2 separate regions of the Homo sapiens genome follow, and region 1 is linked to region 2. Evidence: promoter capture Hi-C in 16 types of primary human blood cells and fetal thymus (Javierre and others, 2016). All regions are on one chromosome and are shown on one strand. The core of a region is centred on a gene start or on the middle of the fragment in contact, and the rest is flanking DNA. Distances in the headings are between cores, read along the strand shown.

What was found. The method cuts DNA at HindIII sites, captures the fragments that hold promoters and counts their contacts. A CHiCAGO score of 5 or more calls a contact.
Region 1: a fragment that was not itself captured here is called in contact with the fragment with the promoter of LINC01588 in region 2 in 1 of 17 cell types (non-activated CD4 T cells); the score reaches 5.2 in non-activated CD4 T cells.

What each region holds. Positions count from the first base shown.
Region 1 is chr14:50,823,451-50,829,978 of GRCh38, reverse strand. The region is part of intron 2 of NIN (ninein); the gene reads left to right. It overlaps LOC105370489 (a long non-coding RNA gene), which reads right to left. Exons shown (of 2, transcript NR_135258.1): 2 at 6,470-6,528. Among named protein-coding and RNA genes, the nearest start is that of NIN, 4.4 kb to the left of the region's middle. RefSeq lists an enhancer at 86-135. The HindIII fragment of the contact is 196 bases long and covers 1,660-1,855 here.
Region 2 is chr14:50,002,810-50,009,508 of GRCh38, reverse strand. It overlaps LINC01588 (long intergenic non-protein coding RNA 1588), which reads left to right and starts at 1,989. Exons shown (of 4, transcript NR_126498.1): 1 at 1,989-3,915. LINC01599 (long intergenic non-protein coding RNA 1599) reads left to right here. Exons shown (of 9, transcript NR_131171.1): 9 at 2,090-2,196. RefSeq lists an enhancer at 1-151 and silencers at 5,853-6,212, 5,898-6,411. The HindIII fragment of the contact is 14,705 bases long and covers 1-6,699 here.

The DNA of each region.
Region 1 (6,528 bases), core at 508-3,007, 820 kb before region 2:
AGGGGAAAGAACAAAATGACATTTGGTTATTGCCTAAAAGGTGTGGCATGGAGGTATGGAGTGTCGGGGAAGGAAGCTTCCAGCGGCTAGGCTTCTGTAGCTACCGAAGCGGCCCCTGACAGAAGGACACTAGGTGATGGGAACAGTCACTGCTTCCAGCTCTCGCTGCGAAGTTAAAAGAGATAGAGACGGAAAGAGGCAATTTCCCTAACCCCAGCCCTGACAACCCGAGGTGAAGGCACCAACAAAATGGGAGCTGGAAAGACTGCCCTACCATATATCATGTTTCCAGACAACTTGGATATTATGAGATCTGCTTTCTGCTCCTAACTAGGACAGATCCTCTCCTGGTGTTGAGGACTTCTAAGATGGGCTTGCCATACAGCTCAACTCCTGAATTTATTACATCGAAACAGATTGCGTAGTTGTCTTTTGTGACTGACATGGTAGCTTTGTAGGATGAGAATCCTGATAAAGTCCATCCTGACACATGAGGGAAGCCCCTGGAACCACGACGTTTCTCAGTTAGGTCCCCGTAAACACCATAACATACACACATGTTTGCATGATTCCGGAGGCTTGATGATCTAACAAGGAAAATTCCTTTTTTCTGTCAGTTTAATTTTACCTTGAGTCTTCTCTCGTGGTGAGCATATTATATAGGTGGCTGACCTGGAATATTGGTGGCTCTTGCTCCGGAGTTGAAGGGAGCTGAGGATTTCCAGAGTGTGTATAGGAGGAACATTACAGGCTGGCTGAAAAACGAGTTTGTGTGTTGTGGTCTCTTCAGCTATTGTCAGTGTCCTTTGGGAGGTGATGTGAACTGCCCGGGAATTTGTTTGCAGATTTGTTTATTTTCCCTGTTCTCTGGTGATTCTTTAGAGGGAAGCATTCTGCAGAGTGGGGAAAAGGTAGGATGAATGTTCCACAGGGTTGGACATCGGCAAAGTTATTACCAATACAGGGAAAGGCTTCACAGGGGGCAATAGAGAGGAAGCCATCATACAGTCTGCATTAAAATGTCAAGGATCAGTCATTTTAATAGGCACTTGCTCAGAATGGCGTGGGGTTCTTTTTTCTTATTTCTTTTTCATTTTAGATGTGTAATGACCCTTAATATCAAAAGATGTTAACTGTCACAGAGGGGGAGAATAGGGCTCCAGTGAATTCTGAACAGCCAATCTTAATGTAATAGGCAGTATTCTTATCATGAGTCAAATGTTCAAATAAATTGTTTTAAATGTCACTGCAAATGACTTTCTAAACTAACATTTCAACTATCTTGATGCTTCCATTTTATGTTGATAATGAAAATGCATTTTATCAGTCTTACATTGATAAAGGGTGGGCAAGCTTAGCCAGAGCATTTTAGAAGGATTTAAACAGCGTGAAGCCTTTTTAGAAGGCTTATTTTTATAGATGCCAATTCATTTGTAAGCCAATAAATTATCTGGTTTGAATTCTAGCTATTGAACTTGCATCTGTTGGGCAGGGGCTTATGGAGAGACTTAGTGAAGCTTGCAAAAAGATTTTTATCCTATTTATGAATAAAATAGAATTTTGAAAAGATTATGAGATTCTGAAAGTGAGCATCCTTGTTTGAAATTAGGACACTTCTTTATTGCAATTTAAGTCAGCAATTAACCATTTATTCAAGCTTTTGGATGGAAAAATTACAAAGCATCTATCTATACCCTAATTCTCACTTTAAAAACAAAGTTGGGAAAATATTGTTCATAGACGTGAGAAGAGAAGATCACCTTCACTTACACCTCAGGGTACCATACTCATAGCCTCAGGCATCCTAAATTAATGTGAGTCAATATGGCTTAAGAAGTGGAAGTTGTTATAAGCTTTCTCCTTTTTTTTTTTTTTTGTAACAAACATGCAGCTCTGTTTTCTGCTTCTGTAATTTACTTAGTAGTTGATTACAGGTTACTGAATGCACATTGTGCCAGGCTAATGGCGTTTTTTTGTTGTTGTGTTTTTTGTTTTTTGTTTTTTTTTTCCTGTAGCTAACCTGAGTTAACTACTTGATTGGGTAATCTACCAGTTATTAGGTTGAACAAAAGCATGGGTTTATTACATCCTTCAGGATAGTAAAATAATAAAGGTTGCTTACATTTTCGAATAAACGCTGATAGGATTCCCTTAGTTAAATATTATAGTGTAGTTGACAAAGGTTGTTATTTTTCTTTTTCTTTCTTTTTTTTTTTTTTTTTGATACGGAGTCTCTCGCTCTCTCCTGGGCTGGAGTGCAATGGCATGATCTCGGCACACTGCAACCTCTGCCTCCCAGGTTCAAGCAACACTTCTGCCTCAGCCTCCCGAGTAGCTGGGATTACAGGTGTGCGCCACCACACCTAGCTATTTTTTTTTTTTTTTTTGTATTTTTAGTAGAGACAGGGTTTCAACGTGTTAGCCAGGATGGCCCCGATCTCCTGACCTTGTGATCCACCTGCCTCAGCCTCCCAAAGTGCTATGATTACAGGCATGAGCCCCCGCTCCCAGCCATTTTTTCAAATGTATTTAATGTGACTTTCTTCCTGTGCATTTAAGCTTTCGTGTTATATTTTTGTATCATGATTTCATTCACAGTGATATTGTTGTGCTTTTGGTATCCAGCTAGAAGTGAGACACTGAGCAGAGAGGAGGCATTCTGACAGTAATCAGTTTGCTGCTAAGCAGCACTGGTTTTTGGCGGAAGTATTCTCCTATATAAACTCGTAAATGGCTGCAACTGCTTTTTCTATTGAGCTTTTACTAAACTTGAATTTATCCTTGTCACTCTTTCCTTTTATACTGAAAGTAGTCCAATATGGTGAGCCTGAAAATCTGTGCAGCCAATTAAAGTATTTGCAGAAAAGAAAGAAGAAAAAGAGCACTTTAATTTGATCATTGGCGTTATTAGGCTCCGACTTGCCAAATGGTGAAAGCTAAAGGCATAAATGGAGAGCTTTGCCCAAGTGGGGTTTGTCGGTGTTCATCACGTCAGCTGTAGAGTAAGTAAATGAGTCACTGGTGGTCACTGCCTAGTCTGTGGACCCCCAACAGCTATGTCTGCACACAGGTCCAAAAGCATCTATTATGATGCCCTCTCAAGGAAAGCAGCTGAGCCGAGAGGGGCATGCAGACATTCCGCAGAGCTCTTCAGCTGCTGAACCATCTGGATGCGAAATAAAAGGCCTGGGCTAGGGGCTCTAGCATTGTGCATATTTATTACTTGGTTTTCACTTGCCAGACTTTGTCCCCTTTTCACTCGCCAGACTTTGTCCCTTTTTCACTCCCTCTGGCCCAGAACAGACGTCCCCTTTAGCTGGGGTGTCATTGTTACAAGCTCCTTTCTGTACCTTGGTTGAACACTGAAAAGTTCATAAATCCACATGTCCACTCATGATTCTAGCCACACCTCCACCTATTTAGTTTGCAGTCCTATTTGGCACTGTGATTTCATCAGCTGGGGTAATGAACACCACTGTCAGAGTCGGCAGCATTTTGGCAGCCTTATTTTGAGTTATTTGGAAGGAAAATGCTCAGAATAATTGTCATTATGGGTGGTTATTGAGTGGTAAATGTTTTGATTAATGGTTCTGTGCATCTGCTTCTTATTTAACCATCCCCAGTTAGAACTCCAAAATATTGCCCATACTGGTTCTTTCATTCCGAAAGAGTCATAAAGCCTTCTGACAATTTGACTGGAAAGGTAGATGGTGAGGAGAGGCCCAGGTTTATTATGGCAGGCTTCGTAACACTGGAGCTCTTCTTTGCAATTTGAAGTAGAATTTCTCGCTCAAAATGTAACTTTCTTAATCTCTGAGTAAGACTCCTGCCTCTGGTGGGTACCAGTTAGGATCTGACCCTGAAAAGCACTGGATTGCACAGATTATACATACTTAAGTGTTTATTCAGGGGAAGTCATTTACGAATTACCAATTCCTGGGCAATGCCCATTATTGAAGACATGGGACACTTCATGATCATTTTTATATAAGAATTTCTTTCTTTCATGCCCTAAATCCCAAAGCTGCTTTAGAAAAAAAAGGGAATGTGTATTCTATCTGTATATCCCTGGTGCCTTGTAGGCTATAATTATTCAATAAATGGATCAAGGGAGGTAGGAAGGAAGGAACTCTGCTTCTCAATTCCAATTTGGAAAAGTTTGTGGCCATGGAGTGTTGTGTGGGGATTTCTACTGCTTAGTACTGTTCAACTGGCTAACACATAAAGGTGGAGATAAGTGGTTTGCCAATGGCATCATTTCAGAGGTCTCATTCATGTGTTCTGTGTGCATGTGTAGGATTGAGGGATAATATAATTCAGTGTCACACTAGAGTGCAAATCTTGGCTCCACCCCCATTTTGTTCAAGGAGATTAATGCTGTCTCCTTGGACAGTGGCTTAATTTTGCCAAGCCCCAATTTCTACATCTTGCGTGGGAAAATGAGAAGATCCACTTCTAAGATTTGGGAGGATTAAATGAGATGATATACATAAAGTACTTAGTTTAGGCCAGACTCATAGTAAATGTTCAGAAGTAATTCCCAGTTACAGTGCAGCTTTCTGCTTTTATTTGACATTAAATTTATCAATAACCTGCTTTTAAAGATAGAGGAAGCTCTGAACATTACCTGCTGCCATTATCATTTAGTTATATAATGATGTTTATATACATAGTACACTCCCTGCCCATTCTCAGTCTGTTCTATAGCATTTCACATCTCCTGCTTTGCTTCTTTGGAGGTAGATCTGTAGATAATTCACTTGTTACCTCCTCTTCAGTTTACCACTCCTTTGTAGCTGCAGGTATTCTTTTGGTTATCTTAAATTCCCTCTTGTATCAGCTTTCTCTGGAATTAGCCACTCTCGCTTGCTTGCCACATTTAACTCTCAGAACAAACCTTCCAGATGGATATTGTTATTCTCATGCTGTAATCGAGGGGACTTGAGAAAGGTTTTAGTATAGATTCTCCTCCAAAGTTTCATCCCATAGCAAGACAATGCAGTCGAAGTTTGTGAATCCATTTACTTAATTACTAGCCTATTGAATTAAACTTCAGACAGCGCTGCATGTTACAGATTGGCAGTTGGTGTTGGCTTTCTACTTCTTGCTTAGGAGGCTGAAAATGCCTTTGAGAAAGGGTGGGATGGGGGAAGTGGAGGTGTGTAGGTGGATGAGATGGGCATTCCAAAATTTTCATATGCCCATTTCTGTAGACCTCATTTAGGGTACGTTTCCTCTCAAGGAGTGATCCATACAGGAAGTCAATCCATGATATTTACCAAATCCCTGGCTTGAAGAACAGACTGACTGTAGTATGCATTTGGGGGAAGATATAAAAGAAATAGGAGCGTGGATCTTACCATTAAAGAACTTTCTGCCAAGTGGGGAGAAAAAAATTCTTGCACATGAAATTACTGATGAACATTTGGGAAATAATATCAACCAGTAAAAATGCCTTCTGTGCCAGATGAGCACTGACAACTTGTCACCATGCGTAACATCTCCTGGATGTTTCAGCGTGAGCATTTGTTCCACAGGGGTGGTGCTTGTCTCCCCTTCAGTCAAGCACAGTGTTTTGAGAAGGAAGGAGATGAAATAAAGAGATAAAGAAAAGAAAGCTGCCATAAAATGAAAGAGGTTTGATTTAGTGAAAATCCAATGACCTCCCAAAGAGTGGGGCATGATAGTATATCAAATTCGACACCGTGGATAAGATCAGGGCTTCTCAGTACATCAGTGTTTTATTCCTCTCTTTCATTGGTTTAAGATGGACAAATCCCCGCCCCTTAAAAATAATTTTTAAAAAGGGAAGTGTTAGAATTCTTTCGCTTTTGAGTTTTTAAACATATATGCAAAATCAAGCAAAAGAAGAGTCTTGCTTTTATGAGGTCGGTCAGATAACAGCCCAGGGGACTGTAAAACTCAGAGTGAGACTAAGAGCTACCGCAACACTGAAAATCCTGGAGCACCTTGGGGATTCTCAGCAGATCTTAGTTGACAATTAACTGGTGGACTCTAAGTGAATCTTGTTAGCGAAGTGTTGGCCTTGTCTAAATTCTTAACTCCTGTGGCTTTGCATAACAACTTGGTGTTTCTTTTCTGAGGCTTTGATGTTTATATAACACTCTCAACTTATTTTGAAAACATTTACATAGTGATTAGTTAACCCAACAGACCAATCCTGGGAAGACAGCCAGAGCCTGCAGCACCTTAGTAACAGAAAAACTGATAATTAGGAGAAGAGACCTGTCCAAGACCAGGAACCTGGACCAAAATTGTGCCATGTTGCTTTACTTTAATGAGTGGCCCCAGTAAAAACTGAGCTGTATGGCAGAGCTGTTCACATTTATCTTCTGTGTCCACCCAGTTCTGCTGAAACCCCTGGCAAGATCGTGGCCCTGTTGTAGCTTGTCATGTTTTGAACAGCTGTCTATGGAAAGAAAGCAAACACAACCTAGAGCAACATTGATTTGTTTTAGAAAGCTCTTTTATTTTCAGTTCTGGCTGTGTTCAACATCTTAGCTTACG
Region 2 (6,699 bases), core at 740-3,239:
TATACTTCAGACTTGAGCCAGCTGGTGATCAGTTCTCTTTAAATTGCAAATGATATAAACTCCAATTCAAATGGACTTCAGCAAAAAAGATAATTCATCAGCACATATAACTGGAAGTTCAGGGGCTTCACATACTGCTGAATTCGGGTGCTTCGACCGGTCATCAGGACTCAGCTCTCAGAGTTGCCTTGTCTCTGTGGCTCTTCCTCTCCCGAGAGTGGCAAGATGGCTACCGGCATCCTTAGGGTCACACTGGAACAGGTTAGAAGTTCCTGTGGAAAGCTAGACACTTTCCCAATAGTTACAAATATTACATACATATATATACAAAGCGTCCTGGGACTGACTCATTTAACTGACACGTACCAGTCCCTGAAGGCCTTGTTGATTGGCCAGGCCTGGGTCAGTCCTGAATCTGGGTGGGGTCAGCCTCACCAGAACAGCACAGTGAGTTTGGGGGTAGGGGGACGGAATATGCAAAGAAAAGCCAGGACAACACTAAGCAGACAAAATAAAGGTTTTTTTTTCCCCCTATTACAACCAAGGCCACCTGGATTTCATAATTCCTGCCCAGGAGGCAAACCTGGCTCACTAATTTCAGTGTTCTTTATTAAAGACACACACAGCAGAGACAGAGGAAGAGAAACCAGAAGAGGGAGGTGAGGATGGAGCCTCTAAGGGCAAGAATGCATTCTTTTTTTTTTTTTTGAAATTTTGTTTTCGTTTGAGACAGGGTCTCACTCTGTCACCCAAGATAGAGTGCAGTGGCACAATCACAGCCCACTGCAGCCTCAACCTCCCTGGGTTCAGGCAATCCTCCCACTGCAGCAACCTCCCCAGTAGCTGGGACTACAGGTGCATCCTCATGCCTGGCTAATTTTTGTGGTTTTTTTTTTTTTTTTTTTTAGAGATGGCGTTTTGCCATGGTGCCCAGGCTGGTCTCAAACTCCCAGGCTCAAGTGACCCACCCACCTTGGCCTCCCTAAGTGCTGGGATTACAGGCATAATCATGGCACCCAACTGAGCGCTGCAAGGGTCTTTTCCAAGCTGAGTGCTGTAAGGGTCTGGGTTAGGCAAGGAAGACACTAAGGGTGTGGCCACTTGCTGTACAGTGGAGCAGGGGCCTTAGAACTACATAGAAGAATGCAAGCAAGCTCCCCCTTTCTCTGGAGAAACAGCATCTCTATTTTCCAAGCATACATGCTATACCAGCATCCTTGGAAAGATGATCAAATAAAAGACAGACAGTGTGTCTGCTTGCAAGATATACAGAAATGTGGCCAGGCACGGTGGCTCATGCCTGTAATCCCAGCACTTTGGGAGGCTGAGGCGGGCAGATCACGAGGTCAAGAGATTAAGACCATCCTGGCCAACATGGTGAAACCCCATCTCTACTAAAAATTAAAATATTAGCTGGGCGTGGTGGCATGCACCTGTAGTCCCAGCTACTCGGGAGGCTGAGGCAGGAGAATCGCTTGAACCCATGAGGCGGAGGTTGCAGTGAGCCGATCATGCCACTGCACTCCAGCCTGGTGACAGAGCGAAACTCCATCTCAAAAAAAAAAAAAAAGGAAATATATAGAAGAATGCCTTCTGAATAATCATTTCTTTTTTGAAATTGTGGCAAAATCTCCCTGGACTCAAGGGATGGGTGTAAAAAGCAGTTAGGCAGAGGATGAGGGCCTGTGCCTGAGGCGTCCAAGGGCAGCCCCAGCTCCCTGCAGATCCAGTGCAGCGGGATGTGCAGGTAGATCTCCCTCCCCAGGGCACAAAGCTGGGTGGGGAACAGCTGTCAGAACCAGCCACACCCCACCCCACCCTGCCCAGGCATCAGAAACCTCAGGGAAATGCCTAGATACTCCACCTCAAGGAAAACATTGAGGCCCTGTAGCCAGGAGTGCCCTGTTTGTGTCTAAAAGTTGCCCCAGCCCAAATTTACAGCTGGGAGGATCAGAAGGGCAATCTCTGTCTTCTCCCAAAAGGAAATCATACCCATAGTTACCACTGGGAGCAGGGTGGGCCGTTTACACTCCTCATCCTACCTCGCCATCACCTTAGGAAGCAGCCATTCTCCTTGTCTTTACTGTAGAGGAGGAAGCCTGGACAGCCTGCAGTTGAGGGGACCTGCACAAGCTCACAGGACTCTTCATCACCATGACACCACGCTCACCGCAAAATAAAAATGATCAAACCTGTCATGATGTCAGCAGCACCGGTGTTGGTCTTTGTGGGAAAGAAAAACACAGGCCAGGGCTGCAGCACGATTGTGTCTGCCCAGCTCTTGCAGCCTGGAGAACACCGTTGGATTCCCTCCCACACATGCTCCCAGGCTGCCTGCCTGCCTCACTTACCTGCTCAGGGTGGGGCTTGAGGGTGGCCCCTGGGAAGAGTAAGAACTGGCCAAGACTGAGATGTCCTTCCCTCATTTAAGGTACCGCCTTTTCCCTTTTCCCGCCATCCTGGGTGCATGGATACTTGGGATTAGAAACTGGACTGGAAATGTAATCTTTCTTCGGTTTGGGGCTGAGAACTGGGGATTAGTAGGATTTTGAGTTTATGGCACAGCCTTTTCTTACACCATTTCCTAAAAAGCAGTTAAGATTACACCAGGCACAGTGGCTTACGCCTATAATCTCAGCACTTTGGGAGGCTGAGGCAGGTGGATCAAGACCAGCTTAACCAACATGGTGAAACCCCATCTCTACTAAAAATACAAAAATTAGCTGGGCGTGGTGGCACGCATTTGTAGTCCCGGCTACTTGGGAGGCTGAGGCAGGAGAATTCCTTGAACCCGGGAGGCGGAGGTTGCGGTGAGCTGAGATTGCACCATTGCACTCCAGCAGCCTGGGCAACAGCAACGAAACTCCGTCTCAAAAAAAAAAAAAAATTACAGTCATCTCCCAGAAAAATCAAGAAGGAAGAACCTTGGAGGTTCAACCTATAGAAGATATGTTCTCATGGAATAAACCAAAAATAATTTTTATTTTCTAAAAAATCAAGAACAGAAGTCTCTCAACATTTAAGTTTTACAAACAAATAGAATCTGAGCCACTGGGTTAAACATGACAAACGACACACAGTAACAAATATTGAAGACATCATAATGCCAAAGCAACAGAAGCAGCACCAGAAATGTTGCTGAGGCCACCATTTAATTAACGCAAGTTGAACATATGGCTTTGGTTACATGTGGTTCCAGGCCAGAGGCATGGAAGTCAGTGTTTGTGGGAAAGCCAGGAGGAAAAGCTCCTCTCCCCACCTCCACCTTGTCACTCCAGGTTCTGGTGACCCCATCTCGGGACACGGCCTCCCATTTCACTCCTGCACCAACCCCACTCTTGTAACACTGCACATGCAAGATGTGAGCATCTTCAAAGTACGAATATTGCCTTCTTCATTTTAGAATCCATGATGTGCTTGTGGGGAGAATGAATGAATGCTCAAACATGAATGGAGAGAGACAGAGAGGAAGTGCAGGTCTAACCAAGGAAACCTTCTTTCCTAGAAAATCGTTGATGAGCCCGGAAAGAGTTGGCTGAACAACGGTAACAATTCTTTTATTATTATTTAACTTATTAAGTTATTAGAAAAAGTAAAAGAGTGAGTCGAGGTTTTTGGATTGGAAGTAGGGACCCACTGAGTTCCCTCCAGGATTGTGGAGTTTCTTTTACAGCCACATGTGGATAAGAAACTAAGGGCCACAGACCAAATGACAGGTCGGATGGCAACCCTGGAAAAGTCACACAGCTCAGCCTGTTGGAGGAAGAGGAGCAGTAGAACCTGTGTGGAGCCTGACAGAACCCAAGATGCCATTCACGAACCGAGAGGTCTTTCAAGATCACACACAGTTCTACGACACAGACATTTCGTCTTCTTGCCACTCAGTAGCGGGGCCCATCCCTCTGTGCCTCCAAGGTCCGTGTGCCATGTGGAAAACTCAGGTGTTCTGTCTCTGCCAGGACCTTCTTCCTGCTGCTTATTTAAGTGTCTGCTGCTTCGGGGCCTCAGGTGCCTGCTTTATCTCTTTCTCCTTTACTATCAAGTCTTTAAGCAATTTGCCAAGACGGAGAATCTCACTGGCCTGGTGGGGCTGAGCCTTCCTTCACTGGCTGACCAACTGGGAAGTGGGCTGCTGCCTAGATCAGGTGCGTGCCACAGTTCATCTAGCCGTGCCCAGAGTTCTAAGGTTATGCGCATGACCCCGTGTGTGGGCAGAGGCTCTTAGCAGGGGCCGAGAGCATTGGAGGCATCTTGAGGGCCAGAGTCCCCAGCCCCAGATCACAGATACGGCATGATCAAAATGTGAGGGAGCAGGGGCAGAGATTATTTGGAATAACGTGCTGAGTTTGTATACTTTTGACAATTAAAAGCCCTATGTCCCCCTGATGTTACGCATATGCTCCAGAGGAGCCACTCGGGACAAAGAATCAATAATGGGCGCTTGGTGTGCATTGAAAGCTGACAGTGTATATTTGTGGGGACTATACAGGGAAAGGAATATGAAGCCTTGACAAGATATGGTGAGTATGTATCGGTGAGGTAGGTAACTCATTCATAAGGGACTTTGCAAGGTGGCAACACTGGTTCAAAGATATTACGAGAATAAAGATTTTGTGTACTCAGAGAACGAAAAGGAATGCTGACGTAAGATCACAAAGTTAGATACTAAACTGGCTAATGTGCTACAGGGCAGCAAAACTATAACCTTTGAGGTAATTTATCTGACCAGATAGGAATCATTTGCATCTCTGTAGAACAGAAAAACACTTACTTTTTTTTTTTTTTTTTTTTTTTTGAGACAGTATCTGGCTCTGTCCCCCAGGCTGGCGTGCAGTAGCATGATCTTGGTTTACTGCAACCTCCACCTCCTAGGCTCAAGCCATCCTCCCACCTCAGCCTCCAGAGTAGCTGGGACTACAGGCACACACCACCATGCCCAGCTAATTTTTGTATTTTTTGTAGAGAAGGGGTTTTGCCGCCATGTTGCACAGGCTGGTCTCAAACTCTTGAGCTCAAGCCCACCTCAGCCTCTCAAAGTGCTGGGATTATAGGCGTGAGCTCCCGTACCCAGACAGCACTTACATTTTAATAGTTTCTACACAGTACTATCTCATGTTATTTTATTTTTTAAAATCGATAATGGGACTCTTGCTATGTTGCTCACACTAGTCTTGAACTCCTGGCCTCAAGCAATCCTTCCATCTTGGCCTCCAAAGTACTAGGGTTACAGGCATGAGCCGGGGCTCCTGGCCTAACTAATTTCAGAGTTAAGAACGTTTGGACTCTATTTTATAGTAAAAAATAAGTCAAAGCTACCTTCCCCTAGATAGCCAAATGACTCTCAGATGGGCTCGTTAGACAGTGCTTTAATTTAATATTGAAAGAACTTTTTGCTTCCCCTCCTCCAAGTTTTAATAATTCTTAACAGAGGGAAACAGCAACAAAATTTTTGCTGTAGTGGGTATTAAAGAAGGGAAAACAATCATGAATGCCGGAGTCAAAATGCCCAAGGAGCGGAGGCACCAGCGTTCTCCACCTGGTTTGGCGGCGCACCAGCAGTGTGACCTGGAATCTGATCTCTCTGGAGCTCAGTGTCCTCACCTATAATATGGGGTATTGAACTACACACTTGGCAGGACTTTGCCCTAAAGCTAATTTTCAAAATAAAAAAAAAAAAGCCACTTCCCTTTTCCCACATTAACCCTGAGAGAGAAAGAGGAAGCGGGAAGCCCGCACATGGAAGCAATTTATTGCAGACGTTCCTGGGCTGGGAGAGGAGCCTTCTGACTGCTGCAGAGACCATCACCCGGTCCTGCACCTTTACCGGAGGTGCGGAGAACTGCTCGGCCCGCACCGGGCTCGGGGGTGTTCACGGGCTGCGCTGCCTCCCCTGCGCGCAGGACAGGAGTCGCCAGAGGCCGGTGGTGGATTTCCTCCCCGCATCTCAGCTCTCCGTCCAAAGTCAAATTGCTCTTTTCTCCGCCCACGCGGGCGTGGCAGCTGATATCCGGCCGCTGGGCGTCCCCGCGCCCCCGGGGGCCCCGCCCTGCAGCTATCTCCGCGGCCCACCCGGCGGCGCCTCCCTGCAGGGCTGCTCCCCAGCCCAAACCGCCGCGGCGCGACGTGGAGCCAGCCCCGCAAAGCTGCATCCACCCCCCGAGGACCAGCCCCTCGAAGGCAAGGCCAGGACCTCCCCGGGCGGCTGCAGCCGTGAGCCACCCCTGTTTTGTGAAACACACACTCTGCCATTTCAGGCCGCACTTGCCCGTTGCCATGGGCGTTTTCTATGTTGACACAAGCAGGGACACGGAATCCCTTGACTTTGAGTTGCAGATCGTGGGTGTTGGCGTCTCCGCTGCTTTACCAGGAAGGATGGAAGGGGCTTCAGCCTCCATTCTCACTTTCCTTCTCAAGGAGTTGGCTAAGCATCAGGAGTTTTCTCTTAGGCTTCTCTCAGGTCCCCTTTCCCTGAGAGGTGAAAAGTTTTTCAGAAAGGTGAGCAGCTTTCTCTTTATTCCCAGGGACCACTTCACACACCCCTTTTTCGCCTCCAGAGTAGATGGAACCGTGGAACGAGGGAATCCTGCCCTCTGGTTGTGTCTGTCATCTCCTACTGGGACCAGAGCCACAAAAGCCACAAAAGACCCAACTCTCTCCAGCGTGCAGGCATCCCAACTAGAGGAAGCAAGGAGGCAGAGA